Linked DNA regions of Homo sapiens: region 1 is linked to region 2. Evidence: promoter capture Hi-C in 16 types of primary human blood cells and fetal thymus (Javierre and others, 2016). All regions are on one chromosome and are shown on one strand. The core of a region is centred on a gene start or on the middle of the fragment in contact, and the rest is flanking DNA. Distances in the headings are between cores, read along the strand shown. Region 1 holds the start of AKAP9 (A-kinase anchoring protein 9). Region 2 holds the start of VPS50 (VPS50 subunit of EARP/GARPII complex).

Region 1 (6,531 bases), core at 1,369-3,868, 1.3 Mb after region 2:
CCTCTAGGTATAAAATAGGGATTCAATATACGTTTGCTGAATAAAATTATAATCCAGAGTTTTTCAGTTCTAATCTGAAAGCACACGTTTATACAAATGAAATAATGTACATACTATTTTTGATAATGCCCTTTTCACACTATTTTTCATATTCCTATCAGTCTTCATAATCTTAATGGCTTTAAAATATTCCATCATATTTATATAACTTAGAAAATGATTCCCTTCGTGTTGTCTTTAAAAGTTATTTCCAGGGGTTTTTTTTTGTTTGTTTGTTTTCTGAAACAGGATCTCATTCTGTTGCCCAGGCTGGAGTGCAGTAGCATGATGATAGCTCACTGCAGCCTCGAACTCCTGGGCTCAAGTGATCCTCCCACCTCAGACTCCTGAGTAGCTAGGACTACATACAGGCGCACACCACCATGCCCTGCTATTTTTTTTTTTTATTTAATTTTTTGTAGAGTCTCACTATGTTGCCCAGGTTGGTCTTGAACTCCTGGTGTCAAGCAATCCTCTCGCCCCAGGCTCCCAATGTCAGCATTTTTATATTGTATAGCTAATGTTGCAGCAAACACACCTTGCCTTACAAGTCTCATAGATTTATATCTTACTGGAAAAAGGGCTAAATTCTAAAAGAAGATAATCTTTTACAACAAAAATTCACCTTAAACAGGTTTTTACCCCATACATAGAATTCTGAAAGATAAAGAAACACACAAAGAAACTAGAATTGTATTTTGCCACATCAACTACAACTGCAAGCAATTTAAATAAATCCTCTATTATGAAATGTGTATGTCCAAAGTAAACCATGTTTTGTAGGACTGCTTCACATATATTCAGGAAAGACATTTCTGGGGGCAGGCAATAAAAATTGTGAGGTAACAGACAAGTAAGACATCTAATCAGATCTTCAATGCTTTTGGAGGGGCACACACTTCACCTCCACTACTTCCGTAGATGCATAGAGCTTGCTCAGCCCCTCAGATTGCACAAGTGTAGGCTTTGGACTTCTAAAGATACCCTGATTCCCCTTTCCCACCATTTATAGATTCGAAAGTAAAAATTTACCTGGCTATATACAAGCATTTAAACCTTGATCTTAAATAGAGGGAGCTTATAGGAAAGTCAACTATATTTTAGAAATATGAAGCTAGTTTTTATATATATATTCATTTAACAAACTTGTGTTGAGCTTCTATCACTGCATCTCTGCGGTATGGCCCTTCATTGATAATAAATCACTAACCTGGTTTCCTTTGTTTATGTGAGGAGAAGAGAAAGGAAGAGAGGAAAAACAGTTACCTGTAATACAATTTTTGTCCAAGTATGACTGCTAACAATTATCTCTAAAAATAATATAATCCATAAAAGAAGACTTCATTGAAGGGAGGAAGGGGGCTTTTGAGCCCAGACAAAATATATGCTCAAATATGTAATTTTTAAAAGAAATATGCTACGCAGCTTATATTCTGTATATGTTAAATTTCTCATGAAGCCCAATGAACGATGCCTGTGTATAATTGTGTATTGTATTGTTTGCTTTACAGGCTTTTCCATAACCGTTCACACACACACACACACACACACACACACAACCAGGATTCGCCAGAGAGATATATAACAACTAAATTATTTAAAGCAGGAATTCTATAGGTGTTGGCATATGGAACCTTTCGGTCCTCAGAAGTTCCATTCACAGACTGCATTAACATTCCATAGGACACAAAAGCGCATGCCATGACAAAGACCTTCAAGTACAAACATACAAAGACACGCTTCTAAAAACGCCCCTAAAGCCAAGTTCACAGCTGGCACTTGTGGCACACACAAGCCACTGCTGAGACAGCTGTCACAGGCCAATCACACACACCCAAGAGTGCCAGCGTGCTACCTAAGGAAGACAAGCTGATGATCAGCGCACAAATCCCCAACCCAATAAAGAAAAGCCCTAAATCCCCACCCTGGAAAGCACAATGCCTGCACCACCCAGAAAACTCCTTAAAAAAATGAAAGATCGGAGGTTTAGAAGCAACTAAACACTAGTTTACAGCAATACAGTAAAAGGGGAGTTTTATTTGGACATTCACGAGAAAGGAGCCACAATATTCAATCCTCGCGGAAGTATTATCAGCTAGCACAAGGCTTTGTCCCCCAACTGGAAAAAGGGGAAAGGAGGAGGGCGAGGAGAGATGCAGACCCTAAGACCCTGCAGCACCTCCCTCTCGGGCAGTGCACTGGGGCTGCGGCGAACTCCGCTTCCCAGGCCCCCTCCCACCCCGTGCTAGCCACCGCCTCCCACCGCAGGCCCGGTTGCCTCGGGCTCTCCTACCTTGGCTTTGCCGGCCTCCAGCTTCTTCTGTCTCTCCTCGTCCTCCATGGCCTCTGCAAGGAAGGCAGGGGAAAACAGGGGTTGAGGGGTGGTTGGGGATAGAAAGGAAAGGTCGATTTGGACGGAGGTGGGACGGCAAGCTCCACGGCCTAGAGAGCCGATTCGGTCCGGCGCTCCCCCGCCCGAAGTGGAAGCAGTCTCCGCGCTCACTGGCGGATCGTCCTCAGCCGCACGGGAAGCGCCGTCACCGCCGCCGCCGCCGCCATCTTCGTCTCCACGTAAACACACGGCGAGGCGGGAGGGGCTGGAACGTCTGTCCGCGCAGCCGCCTCGTGGGCAGGTGCTCCTGGGGTGCCGCCCCGGCCCAGCCCTCCGGGGTCAACCCTTGCCAGGCCTGGGACCTGCCTCCTACCAGCGAGGATCCCGCCGTAGAGAGCGCCCTTCCCGCACATCAACGGCTCACAGGTGGCGGCCGAGCTGAGGGGTAGGAGAGACGGAGTGTGCCAGAGGCTCCTGGCCTGACCCCCACCCTCCGTCCGAGGAATCCACTGCTATTAAAACATGAGTTTTTTTTTTCCTTCAGGTTACAAAACTAACACACCTAATGGTGAAATTGGCGAACACCTACAAGCTCCAACGGAAAAGTTCCGGTGGGGGGTGGTGGGGGGGCGGACGCCAGGTTTTCTACCTACATTAACTGCTTGACTCAAGAATTATGAGAGCAGCTAATTGCTCTTATTACTTCCTTAGCCTGAAAAGTCCCTCCCTCTTCCCTCCACTGGTTCCCACTCAATCTCCGGTTCATCCTTATAGTCCCATCGCACACGCTGCCTCCAAATGGCTTTTCTGACCTCTTGTTCCCTCCACGGCAACCGAGACACATCCAGTCAAAACTTAGTCCCCTCCCCCGACTCTTTGGGGCTTCCCTTTAACAGTAGTGTTCTGAAAGGAGCCTGAGCTTTAGAACCTCGGTTAGGGACAATGCCAGACTACACTAACTTTCTAGCGTTAATGACAAGTTACCTATCCTCCCTGAGCCTACCTGGAATTTTTGGAAGGGTTGTTAATATATGTGACTGCCCTGACATATTAAAACGTCCTGAATAATGTCAGCTTTATTTCTCCTTGGACTTCCTTTAAGTACCCTGCACCATATTTTAATAATTTGTGTGCGTCTTAGTTCAGCTCATACTCCCAGCTCCTTGATGACAGAGACTCATCATAAGTCTTGCTCATCTTGGCTTTACTAAAATGACCAGCACAGAGCTCTGCACTCAATAAACGCTTTTTGGATTGAATTGAGCAGTGTTTATAAATTTAACATTACTATCTTTCCTTGTTTCCCCGACATGTGCTCCCTCAGTCCTTTGTGTTCGTCTCCCTGCCCTCCAATGCTCACATCCATTCCTGGAGTGAACTACACATTTTAATGTCTCTGGTTGATTACTCAGATTTATCATGTTTCTCCGTTGCTTTGAGCTAGGTTGGACTGAAAAACTAGCAGTTGTGAACAAAAAATAGGCTAAAATGAGTTCAAGCGTAGAAGTGGTGTTAAGTGAAAAATTGAGGTTAAAAAACAAAAAAGGAGATAATAAAGACCTTAAGTCTACCACAAACTGAAGATGAGTTTTAAATAGCCCTCATTTAGAAATCTTAGCTTTAAAAAAGATTTTTTTCTTAAGCTCCGTAATGCATACATTCTGCCAACTTCTAACAGCCAAGTGCATATTGTCCTGTTATCTCAACCTGAATTAGGAACCAGGTAAAATTAGACATTTTATCATAGGGATGAAAGAATTGAGGCAATAAGTGATTTACTTAGTCACCCATCAAATTAAGAGTAAGGACTAGAACTAAGTGTTCTAATAGTGCAGTGATTTAAATACTGCCTGGATTGAGGGATTATGAGTGTAGATGCTGATTGCCTAGGAGGGGGAAGCCCCAGGGTATCCAAAGCTATTCCTGTTTGTTAAAGGATACTGCTTTCTCGGTGACTAAATAAGTCAGCTGTTTGTAGGTGCTGAGAATGTTCAAGAATACCTTCCAAAGCAACAAGATTATTTCAATGTTTCCTTCACTGATAGCAGCCAATCATATACATGTCTAGTTTACATAATGGGTGCTCAATCAATGTTGAAAGTTAGATTTGTGTTAACTTCTATTAGAAGAGCAAGCATTGGGCACTAGTGTTCTGACTCTTCCTTATGGCACCTATTCTGTCATAACTTGTCATACCAATCATTAATTCATGTCATGTCATTCACTTACTCAGGTGATTCTTTCAGAAGATATTTCAGCAAAGACTTGAAAGAGATGAGGAGGCTGGGCGGGGTGGTGCACGCCTGTAATCCCAGCACTTTGGGAGGCTGAGCGGGGTGGATCGCTTAAGCTCAGGAGTTCGAAACCAGCCTGGGCAACATGACGAAACCCTGTCTCTACAAAATAAATAAATAAATAAATAAAAATAAAATACTGGGTGTGGTGGCGGGAGCCTGTAGTCCTAGCTACTCCAGAGCCTGAGGCGGGAGGATCACTTGAGGCCGGGAGGCCAAAGCAGTGAGCCCAGATTGTGCCACTGCACTCTAGAGTAAGGACCTAGACAACAGGTGACACTGTCCCAAAAAACAAGCAGGTGGTGGGTGGGGGTAGAGAGCCACGGAGATAGTTGAGGGTACAGCAAATCCAAAGAAAGGCCCTCAAGCGAGACCATGATGGACCTTCTCAAGGAAGAGTAGGAGGTGAGGGTGGCTAGAGTGGAATAAACAAGGGAAATAGTAGGAGATGAAGTCAGAAAAGTAACAGGGGGCCAGATCCTGTAGAGTTCTTTTCTTTCTTTCTTTCTTTCTTTTTTAAACGGAGCCTCACTGTGTCACCCAGGCTGAATGCAGTGGCCCAATCTTGGCTCACTGCAACCTCCCGGGCTCAAGCAATCCTCCCACGTCAGCCTCCTGAGTAGCTGGGGCCACAGGCGCACTCTGCCATAGCCAGCTTATTTTTGTATTTTTTGTAGAGGCAGGGTTTCACCATGTTGCCCAGGCTGGTCTGAAACTCCTGAGCTCAAGCAATCCGCCCGCCTCAGCCTCCCAAAGTGCTGGGGTTACAGGTGATCCACCATGCCCGGCTTCAGATCCTGTAGAGTTCTAAAGGTCATTGTAAGGACTTCAGCTTTTACTCTGGGTAAGATTAGGAGCCATTGGAGAATTTTGAGCAGATGAATGACATGATTTGGCTTATGTTGTTCACGGACATTTGGCTGCTATGAGGAGAAAGGGGGATCAGTTTGGATGTTATTTCAGTAATCCCAGATAATGGGAATTTGGGCCATAGTACTGTAGTGGAGGAAAAGATATGGAATCAGATTCTGGATATCTTTTGAACATAGAACCAATAGTATCATAGGAGTTGTATATTGGATATGAGGTTTGAGACAAAAAGAAAAGTCAAGGTTGACTCCAACATTTTTGGCTTGAGCAACTGAAGTGATGAAGTTGCCAGTAACCAAAATGGAGAAGAGAAAATCTGGGGACCAAGTGTTCAGTTTTGGACATGGTAATTTAGACATACACATTAGGCATCCAAGAACTGATGTCACCCTAAGACATCAGTTAGTCTGGATTCAGGAGACAGGTCCAAGCTAGAAATAGAAATGTGAGAGTAGTCAGTATTCAGGATGTAGATGGTATTTTAAGTTAAGGAATTGGATGAGATAATCTAGGGCCATGCTATTCAATACAACAGCTATTAGCTAGTCTGAATTGAGATGTGCTGTAAGTGTAACACTTTGGATTTGGAAGACTTAATATTAAAATAAAATAACAAAATATTGCACTATTTTTATATTATTAAAATGATTATATTTGGGACCTATTGGGTTTAATAAAATATATATTAATTTCACCAGTTTCTTTTTTTTTTAAATGAAGTTACTACAAAGTTTCAAATTACATATGTGGCTTGCATTTGTGGCTCACATTATTTTTCTATTGGACCATGCTGCTTTAAGGAGCAAGTTTAGATAGAAAGGTGTTACAAAGACTGAGTTTTGGAATACTTCAACTCTAAGAGGGAGGCAAGGTGAGCAGAATCTGCAAATGAGACTGAGAACAGTGGCTAGATATGTGAAAGGAATCAGTAGCCAAGCGAAGAAAGTGAAGGAGGAGGGAGTGATGAACCAAGACAACTGCTACTAATAGGTCACG
Region 2 (6,530 bases), core at 3,525-6,024:
GCTTAAAAACGTTATGTAACTTGCCGAAAGTCACACAGCTGCCACAGGATACAGCAGGACCCAAACTCATCGTCAAGTAAGAAGTAGTAGGACGCACAACACCAGTACTCAACACATGTGAGGAATTAACAAATGTTACTAGCCACTTACTTAAATATTTTTATTATTCACAGAACATTTTGATTATATTTTCATAACATTAACAAAATGCTCTGACATAACTAAAATAATCATGTAAGGGTCATTTGTGCATTGTGCAAGAGAAATACACAATTTGTATCCTGTTTATATATCTCTCAAATTGTGAATTCTCAAATAAGAATGTGGAATTTGAGTTATTTTTGTAATCAACAAGAAAAAAACTCACAAATATACCTTTCACTAAACGATTACCTTCCACATTCTCCAAACTTCTAAAAGCCATGTTGATTTAAAACTCTAATCTTAACTATCTTTCATATTAAAATAATAAAATGACCAATTCTAGTGAAATATTAAAGCTGAAGTAAATAAAGGCAGCTAAAACAAAGTCATAATCAATAAGTACATAAAAGAAAATTTCTGCACTTCTTAAATGAAGCTGAGGCATTATTACGAGGTCCCTAACATTTATGAGACAGGTTACAAAATAGCCAAAGCTCTTATTCATGAATTTCCATTCTGGGGAAAAAAAAGAAAAGATCAGTATTTTGCCATGACAAAAATAAATTTTTTAAAGCAGAATTTCACAAAGAGTTTTCACATATATTAGCTTATCGATGACCCTCATAACAGAACTGTGAAGTAAAATGAACAAAAATAATTATTTTCACATCCAGAAACGTAAGCTACAAAGTTTGGGGACTTGCCCAAAATCCAAAAGCTACTAATTCTGTCTTCAAATCATCCGTTTTCAGTCTTTCCAGGTCACCTCTACTGCACAGACCACACCACCCTACCCAGGCTATCAGCTCGCATATGACAGACAGCCTGGATGCGGAAGACCTTGCAAGGAAGCTCGGGCTGTTCTGGAAAGACGGCAAAAAGAGGAGGAGGGGAGACAAAGATACCCTGATTCCTTCAATGACTTATTTTTAAACGAATATTTCTGGGAGGCTGGTACCCGCTGGAGCAGTGCTCCAACCCAGGCGGCCCAGGTGAGTTTTCTAGGGTATGCCCCGGCTTCCCAGTCCCCCTGACACCTGCCACCACCCATAACTTAGATCCCCGCCCGCCACTGGTTGGGGACAGAACATCTCGGCTCCTCTCACTTCCGAGATGAAGGAAGCCTTTGCTTCAGCCGCCGCGACTTACCTGTCGGGTCATGAGAGATTTGATTTTTTGCATATCGAAATCCTGAGGAGGGTACCCTGCCTCAAAGAGCTAACAAATCACACCGAGCCACTACACAGCTGGCCCTGACACTAGGAAGCCATAGTGGGTGGTCACGTGGAGGAGCCGACCCAGGGTATCCTGTCTTTCCCTGGGCCTGCTGGGAACTGTAGTCTTCTGGACGCCGGCGGTAGCAACGATGAACTAAAGTGGCCAACCCAGGGACTACATCTCCCAGCAAGCAAAAGAGCGGGTGCTTCAGTTAAGCCGGTAAATATTACTGCTCAGAGCGACCACTGCGATCGCCGGTCTTACAAAGGTGCTTGCACTAGGCAGTAGCTACTCTTCGGCGAGACGGAAACCTAAGTCACAGGTGACTAGGCGTTGAGCGAAAGATCAAACTCAGAGGAGACAATATATAAGCCAGATTGACGCGATGTCCCCTAGGAGTGTGAGGGAGGAAACCTCACCTGGTCTAGAGGGGCGGGGTGGGAGAACGAGAGACTGACGCGAAGGAGAAGGAACTCAAGAAAGGGCTGTCACTGAGGGGTAACCTGAGAACTCGAGACTACCCCGGGCGCGCTGGGTTTGGCCTGAGGAAAGGTGTGCTCTAGGTTGCCCAATAGGCGGCCCTCCAGGTTTAGGGCTGTTCTACCTCAGTCTTGGTATCCCCTGCAAAAGCTCTAAAATCGAAGGATTTTGACGCCCGCCTATTATTTTACCTCCGTACTCTAAAGCAGTGATGACGGGAAATACGACAATAACGAGTATACCTGTCACTTTAAAGTCCTCTTTTCAACTTTTGGCAGTTTAGTTAAATTGGGGAAAGGAACAGAAGTGTCTTTGGGGACACAATTTTAAAAGGACTTTACAATTATGAGAATATGAGAAGAAGAAGAAAAAGCAGCCCTAAAGCTAACAATGATAGCTAACACTTATCGAAAGCCGAGTACCTGTCAGGAACTGCTAATAGCTTTAAATATATGATTTCATTTATCCACACAAGAATCCTGTGGGTTCCCATTTTAAAGATGACGAAGCAGGTATGGCGAAATTAAGGAACTTGCCTAAGATTACTGCAGATGTGCAAGTAGAAACTGAAGGATTAATCGGTCATCAGATGTGTTAAGATTTTCATGTATTGTGCTGAAGAAAGTTCTAAAGCATGGCACCAATTTTTTTAAGTTTATTTTATTATAATGTTAACTTCTAAAAGTATGACACAGACCCATAATTTCAAAAATATTTCTTAGAATAAAAAAAGTTCAAGTGTGTCAACGTAATAAAAAATACTAGGTAAACAATAGTATGGGTGGTAGTCAGATATGGCAAAACTAATAAAGGTGATTTGCAAATGACTGAAGTTTGGGGGACACTAACAGAGGTTATTTCTGATTCTGAAATTCTATTTTCTCACCCCTTAGAGCCTCGTTTTATTAATTTTTACAAATGAGGTTGTAATATTTTAATATTTTATATAGGGCTTTGTAAGGATAAGTGAGATGATGTAGGTGAATGAAATGTATAAATTGTAAAGCACTATACAATTATGAGGTATTATTGGTTTTGATTCTGCCCAGTTCTCTACTCCAACAGAACCACCTTGTGCATACTTGTATCATCACTGCGTTCAGCAATTCCTTTGAAATTATATGTTTACCTATATGCTTCTCTGACTCTGTTATTTCTAACCCCTTCAAGAAATTCTGGTCACATTTAGGGCAAGTCTAGTTTAGTTTATTCTTTACCTTCTCTAATCTTAATTGTCAGACTGTTCTTTGTGTGTGAAAATCTGCAATATTTAGAAGTCCCTGAAAGCATCAAAAGAAACAAAAACTGCCAGCCATATTAGCCTATAAAATAAAACCCAAGTCAATAAACATTTCTTGATTGTTGCGCTCAAGGCAACACTAAAATAAGCACTTTGATTAATAATCTATGGTTGTGGTCACAAGGAGTTCACAACTGGGTTTAAAAGCATATCTTAGGGGTGATCTGAGTTCAGTAGATCTCAAACCTGACTGTTCAGATTCACCTGAGGTGTGTGCTGTTATTATTGTTGTTTTCTTTGGGGATGTTTGTTTGTTTAAAATCTTCAGTGATTCTTAAAGGCAGTCCAGCTCTAGCATGTCAAATCCATGCTGTAAAGATGAGAAAACGTATCTGTATAAGGGTTCGAGACCACATATTTCATGAGAGCTTGATCTAGGACTAGAACCCAGATTCAACCCCGGAATTTTCTCCCTCACATACTCAAATACACAAAGTTAAAGATGATCCCCCCAAAAAGTTTTTTTTATCTAATATGTGTATTTCTATTGGCCAAATTCAGAAAAATGAGTGTTATCCCTATCTATTCGACACTGAAAACGCAAGAAAGTATTGAAACTTTGTTTTACTCCAAAACTCTACATTTTAGTTTATTTCCTACAAACTGGAGAAATGGATAAAAATGGATACAGTCTTCTAAATGTTTTAAGGCTATAACTATAATATTGAAAGCTTGTAAAGTAAATCAGCGCTGGTGTCTAAATAAACTATATTTTCTAATTCAGCATACCTTAACACTATATGAAATAATTGAACCTTACGTTATTCATTTCTATCTGTCTACGCTCAAAAAAACAAAAAACTTGGCATCCTAACAAACACTTTTTAAAAGGTTGGACATGCTGCTATTTCCTTTCCAATTTTCAAAAAGGTATTTATTTTTAAGATTTATTCAGGACTTTCACATTTACCTGAGAGCTGTTGTTAGTGATAGTCCAGTGCAAAATAATGGAAAGTTTAGATGGTCTGCCACCAAATCCTGGGGAAGGTTGGCTGGATACCAATTCCTTGGTAAAGGAGTGCAGAGCCAAGAGTTAAGTAAATTGATCTGATTCAGAACAATAGGATTAGTAGTAAAGTAGGATAAGGGCATATTACTAATGGCCCAAAACAGGAGGAATGTCTGGAAGCTTAAATAAAAGCTGAGATCCTGGTTTGATTAGAAAGATAAAATTTCTTACCACTCCACAAATACCAAAGCAGTGGAGAGATGCAGCCCCTCCAAGATGATATGACTACACTTCTTGAGCAGGCCATAACAGAAAACAGAACACTTGCCAAAGGTAAAGTAGTGACCTAAAGAGGTGCCCAGGAAGAAGACATTACTGCTTAGTATTTAGCAGCCATATAAGATAGATCAAGGCTTCCACGAGGCAGCTTTGTAGACTTTACAGAAGTGAACACTAGCACAGGCATAGGCATATGTGATAGCCTCCTCTGGCAGCTAACTCTCCCTGTAAACTGGAGAGAATCCACTAATTACAACAATAAGAAACATTTCTTTCCCCAGTTCTTATTCCCCACTGTTCTGCATCTACATTGACCTTGGCATTTCACCACCTCTCCTTAATTGTTTCTGCCACTGCAAAACATGCGTGTGCTAGCTACTTGTGATTAAAAATGTGGATGTTTGAAATGCATGCAGCAGACATTTACTGTATGAAGTAATACCAGTCTGCAATTTAAATAAACTAGATTGTAAACTGTGTAGTGTGATTTGAGAGGTAATAAAAATCCCTGCCCCCAACAAACATACACACACATACACACACACACACACACACACACCCTCCTGCACAGGAGTATATGTGTCCATATCCCATTGTAAATGCACGTGGACACACACACGCATACTCTATCCCAGTGGCTCCTTACATTGCTTGCAGTTTAATCACCGTGGATATAGATTGTTTTAGGTTAATCAGCCTTCTCATTTTAAATGCAAATATAACTAAGATTGGTAAACAGTAACACTACAGGCCCTTTTTTCCTGACTGGAATGATAACAGCAGAACTTCCCAGTGGGTTACAGGTGTGATGTGAGATATGGATGGTAGGAAAATTCTTATAATTATAAAACCTTCAAACTATTTTTAAGAATCATGTAAAAATTAACAATTGTTGAAGTTAAGCTTGAGCACTCTTTTTCTCACTTCCTGTGTAAACATGTTGAAATCAGAAGTTACTCCAGCAGGTAAGAGTTTATATCTACAGTTTACCACTAGAGGGCGCTTTGTCATGATTATCCCAGTAGCCCTTTCCCTAGATGTGCCGTATTATATTTCAATATGTGCCATGAAATAAAAAGATTACAAGTAAGATTCATATGGCATTTATTTTTTAATGTAGCATCTACTATCACCTTATGTCATGAAACAGGGAATATTTTCAAATACAACAAAGAAAATCTCAGAATAAAAAACTCCTTTATATTGAGTATATTTAACACTAGGGAAAAACACAGTACATTGTCTTTATTTCTCTTTTTGCCAGGGACCCAACAAACTTCATTATAATCCAGCACTAGATTGAAAAACACTGAAAACAGCTAATTTGATAACGGCAATTGGAGATTAATATCAATCTAAAAGATGTTGGGGGAACCTATGTGATATCTGTAGAACTTCCATATTACTTTCCAAATTGTATTTTGTGCAATCCAATATTAAAATTTATTTGTATTTCTTACGCATCAACTGAGAATCGTAAGACGGGCCAAGGAGCACTTAGAGTTTTGTTTTCTGGAGAAACAACTTAACAAAAATACCAGTTAAGCATTATGCTACGTGCCCAACATCCATGAATGAATAAGATTATTCTCTGTATTCGAGAGCTCAGAGGGAAAATAAACATCCAATAAAATAAAGATTAAGGAGATAAGTGCTGCAATAGATGTGTGTACCAGATTTAGAGACAGTGCAGAGAAAGTTGTGGCATTGTTATTATTTTGCAGGGAGGTGGGGGAAGCATGAGGAGCTCTTGCCATTTTTCTGAAGCATGGAGGGATCTGAAAGTGACTGATCTCTGAAGAGGACTTCGTTTTCCCAATAGTCACTTACTTTCTTTGCTTATAGAAGTCCTTCTAGAAGAGTTCAGAGCCCTAATGCAAAGAGTGTTTCCAAACTTGGATTCCAAAGTTACTATCATTCCTTTTTTACTTTAATTATGCTTGAGGTATAGTCTTCCTTCCCCTCTTATCATTGAACTTCTTCAGTGGGCCTTTACTGTTAAAACTGATGCATGCAAGGAATTTTCCTTGATTTGATGATTTGATGCAGATTTGGATATATCCTTAACATTTTATATAACAAGGCTAGAACCAGAGCCTTCTTGCAAATAGGGGTTAACTAATAACTTAGTAAATTAAGCGGACATGCTTAGACTATCTG

What was found. The method cuts DNA at HindIII sites, captures the fragments that hold promoters and counts their contacts. A CHiCAGO score of 5 or more calls a contact.
Region 1: the fragment with the promoter of AKAP9 here is called in contact with a fragment that was not itself captured in region 2 in 1 of 17 cell types (total CD8 T cells); the score reaches 5.7 in total CD8 T cells.

The regions. Positions count from the first base shown.
Region 1 is chr7:91,936,949-91,943,479 of GRCh38, reverse strand. It overlaps AKAP9 (A-kinase anchoring protein 9), which reads right to left and starts at 2,618. Exons shown (of 50, transcript NM_005751.5): 1 at 2,333-2,618. The coding sequence starts at 2,380. LOC124901698 (a long non-coding RNA gene) reads left to right here and starts at 2,629. Exons shown (of 2, transcript XR_007060431.1): 1 at 2,629-2,816; 2 at 2,916-3,630. RefSeq lists enhancers at 2,328-2,477, 2,516-3,077 and a silencer at 2,678-2,787. The HindIII fragment of the contact is 23,233 bases long and covers 1-6,531 here.
Region 2 is chr7:93,227,264-93,233,793 of GRCh38, reverse strand. It overlaps VPS50 (VPS50 subunit of EARP/GARPII complex), which reads right to left and starts at 1,428. Exons shown (of 28, transcript NM_017667.4): 1 at 1,294-1,428. The coding sequence starts at 1,326. It also overlaps a transcript of HEPACAM2 not described here. RefSeq lists enhancers at 908-967, 1,208-1,257, 1,348-1,517, 1,658-1,727. The HindIII fragment of the contact is 1,002 bases long and covers 4,274-5,275 here.